Linked DNA regions of Homo sapiens: all the other regions are linked to region 1. The links are contacts of gene promoters, found by promoter capture Hi-C in blood cells and fetal thymus (Javierre and others, 2016). All regions are on one chromosome and are shown on one strand. The core of a region is centred on a gene start or on the middle of the fragment in contact, and the rest is flanking DNA. Distances in the headings are between cores, read along the strand shown.

What was found. The method cuts DNA at HindIII sites, captures the fragments that hold promoters and counts their contacts. A CHiCAGO score of 5 or more calls a contact.
Region 2: a fragment that was not itself captured here is called in contact with the fragment with the promoter of PSMD6 in region 1 in 1 of 17 cell types (naive CD4 T cells); the score reaches 5.2 in naive CD4 T cells.
Region 3: a contact is called between a fragment that was not itself captured here and the fragment with the promoter of PSMD6 in region 1, in 1 of 17 cell types (total CD8 T cells). The highest score is 5.1, in total CD8 T cells.

What each region holds. Positions count from the first base shown.
Region 1 is chr3:64,021,706-64,025,655 of GRCh38, forward strand. It overlaps PSMD6 (proteasome 26S subunit, non-ATPase 6), which reads right to left and starts at 1,789. Exons shown (of 8, transcript NM_014814.3): 1 at 1,570-1,789; 2 at 613-818. The coding sequence starts at 1,714. It overlaps LOC105377121 (a long non-coding RNA gene), which reads left to right and starts at 2,370. Exons shown (of 3, transcript XR_940906.3): 1 at 2,370-2,446; 2 at 2,920-3,037. RefSeq lists enhancers at 1,091-1,713, 1,398-1,747, 1,714-2,335 and a silencer at 1,898-1,997. The HindIII fragment of the contact is 6,204 bases long and covers 1-3,950 here.
Region 2 is chr3:63,960,631-63,964,580 of GRCh38, forward strand. The region is part of intron 5 of ATXN7 (ataxin 7); the gene reads left to right. Among named protein-coding and RNA genes, the nearest start is that of PSMD6-AS2, 41 kb to the right of the region's middle. RefSeq lists enhancers at 1-282, 3,910-3,950. The HindIII fragment of the contact is 3,500 bases long and covers 1-3,392 here.
Region 3 is chr3:63,983,035-63,986,984 of GRCh38, forward strand. All of the region lies in intron 8 of ATXN7 (ataxin 7), which reads left to right. Among named protein-coding and RNA genes, the nearest start is that of PSMD6-AS2, 19 kb to the right of the region's middle. The HindIII fragment of the contact is 596 bases long and covers 1,891-2,486 here.

The DNA of each region.
Region 1 (3,950 bases), core at 539-3,038:
GAGGCTGAGGGAGGAGAATCGATTGAACCCAGCAGGTGGAGGTTGCAGTGAGCCAAGATCACTCCATTGTACTCCAGCCTGGGTGGCAAGAGTGAAACTCCGTCTCAAAAAAAAAAAAAAAATTACCAAAAAGTTTGCATAAATGCACAATAAAAGAACTGAAAAGCCTATCCCTGGGCAGGTACAGAGTAAAGAAAGATAACAGAACTTCAGCATTTACTATACTGTTTCTTAGTTTCTGCTAAGTATTACTCGTGTAAAGTACTAAAGACACCAGAACCAGTGCTTCCCAACCAAGTGAGAAAACTGCTGAAAATGATCCCAATTTTGTAAAAGCAGTAAATAAAATTCTCTAGATGTACACTTACGTTTTTATCGGCATGGGGTGAAATGGGGAAGAATACAGCCCTAGCTGCTGTTTGGGGAAATGACAAGGCATTTCATGGAGACGACTTTTTCATCTTTACATTGATTCACCAGTACAAGCAAGCATGATTACCTTTATACTTTTTCTAAAACGAAGTTAATTTTTTTAATGAGAAACGATTACCTGGAATAGTCTCCAATTTTAGCCTATACTAACTACAGAGAGGGAAAACCATCTCTACTCACTTTGTCACCTATCCGGCAGAGGTACTCGGCCTTTGCCATCATTGCATCGCGAATTTCGCTCTCTCCTAGATTCTTCTCTGCATCTTCCAGCTCCTCATCCAAACGCTTCAACTCATCTTCATTTGCCTTCTTCATTTTATTGAGTAGGTCCACGTCTATCTGCCAGTCGAGGGATTTGCACAAGGCTTCATAGTAAGGAGCCATGTCTAACATGCAAAAAGAGGGATGTGTGAGTGGGGACACTTGTGCCCTCAAGTCAAAGTCTGCCCACGTATTTCACCCCCCGCCCCGCCACAAGTCATCCACCAGTCTCTTCCCCACTAACAGGAAGGCATGCGATGGCGCTTAATAATCGGCTTGGCAAAACATAAACGTATGCTGGTGGGAGGTTTGCGTGACGGCCAATCCTGGCAATGCCAACCTCTACTAGGGCTGGAGGGAGGGCAATCCTCGGTTTGCTCTTGCCGGATTCTGTTCCAAAAGTCTTCAAACAGGGAAAGACTTTTTATACACACATACTCACATACATATGTTCAAACATACACATTCACTACAGAAGGGCCAGAAAGAACCGAACCCAAATTTCCCTTCCACAGGCAAGCTGAACTCTCCCACAGGAATACCCCGCGCCCGGGAGCAGTCCCCACTGACAGAAAGTCACGGGGCCTTTACTCTGTGCCTAGCACAGGGGTAAATATTAATGCCTCACGATTCTCCCCCAAGCTGCCCTTACAGGGGAAGGCGGCACAGAGAGATGCAGACCCCGCTGAGGCAAGTCGAGGTCCCCCAGGGTATCCCCAAACCAAAGCAAAACCCTAAGGGCCGGAGAAGCCAGGCCTGGTCTCTGAGACCCCGTCAGAGGGGTCTGGAGCTCCATCAAAAAAAGTCCCCGCAGGCTCCGGAACGCGGGGACGGCCCAGGCCTAGGCCGCTGACTCGGCGCTCGTGCGGGCCTCACTGTTATCGCGGACGGCCGCCATCAGCTCGTCGCGCACGGCAGCGTCTCCGCGGTGCTCGGGCAGGCTGAGCAGGAAGCGCAGCTGCGCGATACGCAAGTCGGGGTTCTTGGGCAGACCCTCCTCCTCCAGGTTCTCCAGCGGCATCGCGGCGAAGGGGACAGCGGCTGACAGGACACAACTTGGTTACGACCGGCTGCGGCAGCGGAAGCGGGAGGAGTCGGCGAATACGCCCGGCCGCCTGCGGCCCGGCTTCCGGTCCCGTCTCCGCCGGCAGCGTCCTCTGCTGGACACCTCCGGGAACGCCTCACCCGGCCTGGGCGCCTGCGCCCCTGTGTGGTCACGGGGGCTTTTCCACCCTCAAGGCCCCCTGCGGAGTCCCAGAGTGGGTGCAGCCCAACTCAAAAGCCCAATTTCTTGAATCTCTTTCTCACTCCCTTTTTAGCTATTTTACTTTCCGTTTGTAACTGATGGGAGCTTAAAATTTTTTGAAAACTGAAAATGTAATAACAGCATTAATAAAAACAATCACCATAGTTTGTCGAGTCGTTACTCTCATTCATCTTATTAAAATCATCTTCATGCTGCGAGGTAGTACTATTAGCCTATTTAGTAGGTAAGACAAATGAGGCACAAAGAGGTTAGGGAAACAGACCAACCAAGGTCATGTAACAGCCATGTCGCAAGGCCTAAATGAAAACCCCTATCTAGAACTCTAAAATCCACATTCTTTCTGCGGTTTTAAGAAGAAAAAAAAACTGCACCCAGGATTCTACGTCATAGTACAACAGCATCATCGTTTTGTTTACACATAAATTAAATCATTACATGCCTGCATTTTCAGCTTCCTTTTGTTCACATTGCTACAGATCTTCAGAGGTGGTAATCTTTACATTAAATTCCTTTTTTTTTTGAAACGGAGTCTTGCCCTGTCACCCAGGCTGGAGTGCAGTGGCACAATCTTGGCTCACTGCAACCTCTGCCTCCCAGCTTCAATCGATTCTCCTGCCTCAGCCTCCCAAGTAGCTGGGATTACAGGCCTGCACCACCATGCCGGGCTAATTTTTGTATTTTTAGTAGAGACGGGGTTTCACCATGTTGGCCAGGCTGGTCTTGACCTTCTGACCTCAAGTGATTCCCCCGCCTCAGTCGTCCAAAGTGCTGGGATTACAGGTGTGGGCCACCATGCCTGGCCTAAATTCCATCTAATGGATTTACCATAATTTACTTTCACTCTTCCCTCTGTTAGAGGTGTCTTTAGGTTGACCAGAGTTTTTACTTACCTAATATAAAAACTTGGATGAAGACTTTGGATGTCTAGATCACTTCATGTTTTGCATCTTTTTCCTTAGCATAAAATCCCATGAAGGAATAACGGACAAAGGGAAGAAGGATTTTGTGACTTGGGGATATTTAATGTTAAATGGTTTTCCAAAAGAGCTGAACCAGTTTACACAGCTGCTGAAACAGGTGAGACTGCCACATCTCACAGGCAGTAGGCATCATCACATAATTTAAATCTATTATTTGTTTCTATAAAAATGAAACAAGCATTTTGAAGACAACTCAAATGATAGAGAAAATATGAAGAGTAAAAAAAAAATACTATTAAATAGCTCTCCACCACTGCTAAACTTTTGGTAAAAAACTTTCTAAAATTCTTTCATTTAGTCATTCAACAAACATGATTGCATGGTTACAAAGTACCAGGCACTGTCTTAGGCCTCAAGGACTCAGCAGTGAAGAGCACAAAGCCCTGTCTTTGGAACTTACATTCCAGAGAAGCATAGCTTCTTTAAAACTCATCTGGGTATATTAACATGATCATTCTATACTCGCACATTTTAAACTGTGTTTTATTCATTCTACCATGTATTGTGGATATCTTGGATGACAATGGATTGACCATATAGGATTCCATTATATTTATTTCTGTTTGTTTGTTATTTTTGAGACGGATCTCACTCTGTTTGAGACGGATCTCAGGCTGGAGTACAGTGGGGTGATCTTGGCTCACTGCAACCTCCATCTCCCGGGTTCAAGCGATTCTCCTGCCTTGGCCTCCTGAGTAGCTAGGATTACAGGCACGTGCCACCAAGCCTGGCTAATTTTTGTATTTTTAGTAGAGACGGGGTTTCACCATATTGGCCAGGCTGGTCTCGAATTCCTGACCTCAGGAGATCCGCCCACCTCAGCCTCCCAAAATGCTGGGATTACAGGTGTGAGCCACCACACCCGGCCCATTATATTTCTATACCAACTTTTTCTTCATCAGTCCTTAAGTGCTGGTTGATTTGGGTTATTTTTGTTTTTTTCAATCTTATTAATATTACAGTGTCACTTATCCGTGTACATATATATTTTCACACTTAAATAGTTATTT
Region 2 (3,950 bases), core at 393-2,892, 61 kb before region 1:
GGAGGAGGAATGACTCATGGGGTTTTTGGCTCAAGCAGCTGGATGAATTTACTTGAGCTTATGGATCAGGAGGTTGTTCTTTCAGTTTGTATATGGGCATTTATTTTTAATGAGGTGCACTGACCTGAATAAAAAGTGTTGATGTATTATATTAAGTCTTTAGGCATTTTCTAAAGATTATAGAAGAAAATAATTATTGCAGTGATGCCAAGTTGGGGGTGGGGGGTCATTTTTTCTTTTCAGTTTTTTAATGTTTCTGTAATCTAGTCATACAAGCCAGGAAACAAAAGATACTGTGTGCACTTTCCTGGGACTTCTCATGTATTCATTGGGTAATTGTGAAAATTTATTGACTAACAAAAACCACTGCCTTTCAATTTGTTTTTAATTATTAAAATAAAATACATTGTAAAAGAAATTAAACAACCAGAGGATAAGTATGCAATCAGACTGAAGAAAGCTCCTTCATCTTACTTTTCAGGGGTACAGTTTGACATGTACTCTTGGAGGGTTCCTAGAACCTGGACAAAGTAATATTTACCAATGTATTTTTTCCCCTCACATAAAAAAAAGTAGATTCAGTGTGAATTTACATTTTTAACTTAATAATCTATCTAAAATATTTTTTCATGTTAATACATATTGTTCTGCTATAATCTTTTTAAGGACTGCCTGTTATTCCACTTTATTAATGTATTTTCACTTAACCTGACTCCTGTTGATGGACACTTAGATCTTCAGTGTTGCATTACTGTATACAGTGCTCTAAGGACCGTCCTTCTTTGGGAATGTCTGTCAGTATTTTAGCATATTGATTCTCCGCATGGAACCTGGTCACAGTGCCCTCCAGGTTTGTACTACTGTGATTTGATGAACTACTTCAGCAGTTCTGATTTGGGTTGCCACAATAATAAGGCAGTGAAAATGTGAGTTTCTGGCAATATCTATCTTTATATATATATAAATTGTTTATAATGTGTATATGGATCAAAACATTACACTGTACTGTAAATATATAGAACTTTTATTTGTCATTTATACCTTAATAAAGTAGAGGAAAAAACAGTTGGAAATTTTTTTTAAAAAGGCTTAATAAAAATTAAGTAAGAAATTATTATTTAATATATATATGAATTGTTGATATTCACCAGTGTCACTCTTGACTTGCCTGCTACATGTAGAAATCATTAGCTATTATAGGATTGCCATGCTTCAGCTTTAATGGAGATATTTCGGGATATAAATCCATATTTTATTTATATTTTCTAAAAAGTACTTTTCCTGACAGTCATTTCACAAGACTAATTTGTACGATGACTAAGATAAACACACCTGCGATTTCAACCCCACTAAGCTGTGATCTTACATATGACCAGAAGAGGGAGTTTTTATCACTTCTTAATGCTGTGGTACCTACTACCTGACTGGAATAATTCCTCTGATGTATGTACTAGTCCAAGTCCATAAAACAGACTGGTTTGGGAGGGGCCCAATAGCTAAATTTAGCTATTTCCCTCATCCCACATTTTGTATGTAGAAATCCCACTCTTGAGGTTTACTTCAAAGTAATTTTATACCTTTTCATCTTGTGCATTTGAATGTTAAAAAAGAAGAACAGATAATTATTTCCATTTAAAATAAAATACAAATAGCCCCTGATCACACAATATAGAGTTCTTGGTTTGTATTCTCTTCAGGTCACAAATAAACTTTGGAATGAAATTTGTTTCGTTGCCTCTTATGCTTGATATATTTATTAAAAAGGTCGTTAGAACTTCTGTTTTGTTTTTTTGAGACAGAGTCCCACTGTCTCGCTCAGGATGGAGTACAGTGGTGCAATCTCAGCTCACTGCAGCCTCCATCTCCCAGGTTCAAGTGATTCTCGTGCCTCAGCCTCCCGAGTAACTGGGACTACAGGCATGCACCACCACACCCAGCTAATTTGTGCATTTTTAGTAGAGACAGAATTTCGCCATGTTGGCCAGGCTGGTCTTGAACTCCTGACCTCAAGTCATCTGCCTGCCTCAGCCTCCCAAAGTGCTGGGATTATAGGCGTGAACCACCATGCCTGGCCTACAACTTCTAATACTGAAGATTTGTAGTGAGCTTTAGAGAGTTAAGATGTTATTTTGCCAAAGTGGCTAATAGGCCTTTTTCTGGGTGATTCAACTGTGGTCTGTTGTGCTACTTGAGTCTCAGTCTGCTTAGCCAAACAAATTAAGAGAGTGACAATAATCAAGATACACTTGTTTGATGTAATACCAGAATTTTGTATTTCTTTTTTTTTTTTTTTTTTCTTCTTCAAGACAGATTCTCACTCTCTTGCCCAGGCTAGAGTGCAGTGGCGTGATCTTGGCTCACTGTAACCCCCACCTCCCGGGCTCAAGCAATCCTTCCACCTCAGCCCTTCCAGTACCTGGGACTACAGGCACACGCCACCACACCTAGCTAATTTTTGTATTTTTTGTAGAGGCAGGGTTTCACCATGTTGCCCAGGCTGGTCTCAAACTCCTGGGCTGAAGCAATCCACCTGCCTCTGCCTCCTGAAGTGCTGGGATTACAGGTGTGAACCACCACACTCGGCCAGAATTTTGTATTTAATTTTTCTTAGCTACCTTCACAGTGCATTTTTGTAACACAAATTTTTTAGACCTGTTTCTTTATAGATTTTTTGATTGGCATATGAATATATGAAATATATACACCTATAACGTATTTTTATATAAATACACAAATGTAATCATCTCAACTATTTTCAGTGCAGCCTTTTTCTTATTTCATTGGCTCTTTCAACTTACCTGCCTTCTCTAACTGTAGCAGTCCATGCTACGCTATAAATCATACATGCTGCATTCTTAGTATGTAACTTAATATGCATCCTTGTATATTTTTCTCATGCTTCTAACTCTATCCAGGCACATAGAATCACGTATTTTATTAGTAGGGGCTTTTGGTGATAGTTTTACAAAAAAGTGGATCCTATTATGCACACTTCTGCTCCTTTTCTACTCAACAATACCTCATGTAAATCCATTCACAGCCCTGGATAACACTAATCCCCTCTTTTTAATGGTTGCATACTGCTCTAAAGTGTGGCTGTGCTGTAGCTTCCTCTGCCAGGCCCTCTATGGACATTCATTTTGTTTCTTGCTTTTTGTCTGTGTGAACCAAACAGCAGTACCCACTCTGGTACATACATACTTAATTACTGGTGGTTTAGTTTCTGTGGGATAGAGTCTCAGGAAGGGATTCCTGGGTCACAAAAGACTAGTTATTTGCAGTGTTAATAGCTGCTGCTGGATTGCTTTCCAAAAAGGCTGTAATGCTTTATATCTCTACCAGCCACTATGAGAGTTATCTCCAAAGGAGTAGGTGTTGTATTTATTTTTCTAAGCTTCCATTTAATTTTCTAAAGCCTCTTACAATGTTCCTTAGACACATAAACACACACACACACACACACACACACACACACACACGTATGATTAATTTTAATTTGAAATAAATTCCTCAAACAACCACAAGTCTAGTAATACTTAATAATATGAGACAAAGAGATCTTTCAAAACGAGTGATTATTTTAAAAAATATTTAAACAATTATAGGCAGTTTCTCGGGCGTCTATGGGAAGTTTCTATTCATTCTGTATGGAATTTAAGGAAGAAATCTCATTCTCTTATGCTAGGATTCCCCTGTGCAAAATGTGAGGCCTCCTAGAGGATCATAATTTTGAGTGTGATTAATTGCAAGGCCAAGGAAAAACTATGGCCAGTTTTGTTTCTGATCTCCCTATCCTCTTTGCAGTTGGTATGACTGGTCACCTTATAAAGGTGTTCATTGTGTGTTTCAAATAATGACTGGGCTGAGGTCACGCTGTGGTTAACTCAAAGCCTGTGTAAATCAGGCCATGAAGATATATTTTATTTGCCTGCCTTACACACATGAAGTGT
Region 3 (3,950 bases), core at 939-3,438, 38 kb before region 1:
TGAAAGTCAAGTCGACCATCCTGATAAACATGGGTGACTGGGATGTACCACACTACTCCCACAGTCTCTCTAACCCAGAGAAGATGCTCTGTGGATTGTTGTGAATTGTGTAGGTGAAGGAATAACTTGGTTCTGTTGAAGAAAGCCTCAGATTGACAAAATGTGAAGTGCGTTGTTATAAATTATAATCTTGACAGAGGTTTTGTTTCTAATGAGCAGTGTTGTATCCACAGGAATAGTGTTCTCTCCCAGTCTGTTATTTTTAAAAACTTTTAATATTTCCATATAGGCTACCCTTGACTGTGCTTTAAATTATACTGGCTTAAAGCAAGTGCAGAAATTTCCCTTGCGTGTGTATGAACATTTAAAAAATGTGTCACCCATGGTCTTAAATTTTAAAGAACCACTTTTTAAAAAATCTGTGATTTTGAAATATCCCTGTTTTCTAGTTTAAAAAAAAAATACTGCAAGCCAGGCATGCCTGTAAGTCCCAGCTAGTGGGGAGGCTGAGGCAGAAGGATTGCTTGAGCCTAGGAGTTTGAGTCCAGCCTGGAGAACATTACGAGACCCATCTCTTTTAAGAGAAAAAAAAAACTAGATAAAATATATTAATAATTTATATACAAGCTAAGAAAATGTAATGGTCTTCCTTTTTGCTCTGGGGTCTTCCTTCTTTTAAAATGCCAGTATGCTAATAAGGTATATTTGCTGAAAAGTGTGGGTTATTGATGTGGGGTGGCTTCAGGTCATCAGTGAACACCTCTACATAAATGAGCTTGTATGTTGATGTGCATTTCTCTGGAGGGTGTCCCCAGCTACCCCCCAGATAGGTTCAAGAAGCATTCAGAGTCACTGCTTTGAAGTATGTAATTTTAAAACCTTAGAGGGAGGAAGTAAAAATGATAAAAGTTAGCATTTTCTTCTAAAAATTAATAAAATTGTTAGTGTTTTACTTTAAATTTTATTAAAGTGTATTTGAATAAAGGACTTCAGGCCCTGTCCCATGCCCCAGCCAGTGGAGGCATGTTACAGTCTTCTGGAGTGGGAAATTTTTAAGTGGTTCTTACTTTAAGCTTCTAATTTAATTTTAGTATATAGATTTTGTCTTACAACAGTGGTTCAGAACCTTTTTGGGGAAAAGGGTTGGTCAAGAGTACCTTTAAATATCTCATTTTTAAAAAAAAAAAACCACGGTCCATCTTCCGAGAATAAAATAGTGCATACACATACACATTCTGAATTTTTCTATCTTGGATTAATGGACACCCCCACCCCAAGCCCATCCTTGGATTTCTAGGTTAAAAACTCTCATAAAACAAACTGCTTTTTTTTTGTATAGGGTACTAATTGGACACACAGTGGTGTAGTGGTGGTGGTGTATGAAGATAGCCACCTGAGTTCTGTAGAATTATGTCAGTTTCAGCTGTCCCTAAGAGAATGTGTGAAAGCATGCCTCAGCCCTGTCCACATCATGATCACAACTTGCCATTCTCCTTCTGCGCTCTTCCTGCCTACCTGACTCTCAGTAACATGGATTTCTCAGTAATACAGTACCTGTGGGCAATGAGGTTTGCTTTTTTCAAACCCAAGATGTTCTTTTTCAGTCATTTACAAAGCGTGGCAGGGAACCACACCTTTAAGTGTGCAAGACAGTATTGTTGACTGTGAAAGAATATTATACAGCAGATGTCTAGAACTTGTTCATCTTGCTATAACTGAAACTTTATGCTCATTGATTAGTAACTCCTTATTTCGCTCTCCCTTCAGCCGCTGGCAGCCACCACTCTAGTTGTTGATTCTGTGAGTTTGATTATAGATCTCATATAAGTGGAATCATGCGGTGTTTAGTCATTATGTGACTGGGTTATTTATCTTAGTATAATGTCTTCAAGCTTACCTCATACTTGTTGTAGCATATTGCAGAATTTCCTTCTTTTTAAGGGCTGAATAGTATTCCAGTGTATGTATATACTATGTTGTCTTCATCCAGTCACCTGTTGACAGACATTTATATTGTTTCTACATCTTGTCTATTATAAATAATACTTCAGTGAACATAGGAGTTCTAATAGCTCTTTGAGATTCTGATTTCAGTTATTTTGGATAACTACCCAGAAGTGAGGTTGCCAAAAGTTTTTTTTCAACTCAAAATCTTCAAGGAGCTTGACTGGCATTCTTCCTGTGCCTTTATTGCTAGGTGGAGTGACTTTGAATGGGTCTGCATTTTTCTCACATCTTCCTTTTCAAATGATATATGCTCCCCTTGTCGTCCTTCTTTAAGGGTGTCATTACTCTCCGTGGCATTGGGCTAAGCCTGTCATTGCATTAATAAGTCTTGAGACCCAGCTTGTCATGAGATCAGCATAGAACTGGCAGAAAATGCAGCATCCACCAGGCCTGCCCTTTTACAGGATGACTTGACTTTTTTTCATTGTTTTGTCAGTTCTTTTCCTTTTCCTTGCCTTCACGTTGGTCTGAATCTATTAAGCTTGGTAGGGCTAAACATGCCTGCATGTCCCTACCCTGAGTGTTTCCCAAGTTGCTGCCAGGTCTCTTCTGTCTTAGACTTAGAACGTTATCTGTTCTCTTCACCGTCAGGGGATTTGCTGCTGTTCATTCCCATTACTCATTCTCTGTTGTCTGTCTCCCATCCTCACTGCCCCTCCTCACTTCTTCATCTGTCTAATATCCCGTCGAAAGTCCTCTGTGCCTTCCACGCGGAGAGATTTGTGACTCCTGTAGCCTTTGTCCATTCACTCATTGTAGAACTTTTTATTACGTACATCTGTGAGCACAGGCCTCACTCTTTCTAGGTCGCAGGGAATAAAGGGTTTAGCACAATAACCACGTGTTCCCTATGCTTGTGGTGCTTACAGTCTAATGAAAGAGATGGAGAGTATTAATCACCAAAATAACTGTAAAATTACCACTGATGAGTTATAAAAAGATGAGAGGACTACATTATGAAAGCCTGCAAAAATGAAGTTTTTCCAGGGAAGGCTTTCTTGCCATAGGAACATTGGGCTGAAATCAATGTGATGATTTATCTGGGCTTGAGAGGGATGGGAGAGGTAGGAGAGGTGGAGGAAACAATATGTGTGAAGGCTCTGTGACAGGGGCAGAGCAAATTCCTTAGAACCTTAAAGCCAGCCAGGTGGCTGAACAGAAAGAGGGAAGAAGAGGTACGCGGGACCAAAGGAGCAGGGAGCAGTAAGCAAGGGTCTTAGAGTGTGCAGGGTTCCGGAGCCTAGTTATGCAGTCAGTCTTTATCCTGTGAGCCTTGGGCAACCCCTATCGGATTTCTGTTTGGAATGTTCTTCACAGCTCAGTGGAAACCCTACTTAGGCTTCAAACTGAGCTGGGAAAATGTATCTGCCTGCTTTCTTCATTTGGCTGTACTGTGCTAGGCACCGGGAACATTCAAGCTGAGGAGAGGTTTATACATCTGCTTGGAGAGACAGGCAGGTGGACCAGTAATATTATATGTTCATTCGTTCTTTCAACACACGTTGGAGGGCCATTATTTTTATAAACTTTTTGTTTGAAGCATTTGAGCGTCAGGTACTCTTCTAGATGCTGGTACAACACAAACAAAACAAAGTTCCTGGTCTTTAGGTTACTTTCTTAGGGATATTTTCCATATTAAAGAAAATCAAGTAAAAATGTAAAAAGCTAAACACATTTGTCTGTGCCAGGTTAGATTATTTAGGTAGACATAGTTTGCAGTGTGTCTCGTAAGGAGGTGGGTTGTGTTATTCAACCGAAAATGGTAGTTAGAAGCATAATTCCCTTTTTAAGTCCCTAAAGTTGTACCAACTATGCCAATACATTTGTATTATGTGTAGGGGCATGCACACACACATTTACAATATTTTGTAATATAAAAGAAGGAAACGTGGGTGAATTCATTTATGTTTATGGATATGTGATTAGGGGCCACTGTAGCTCAT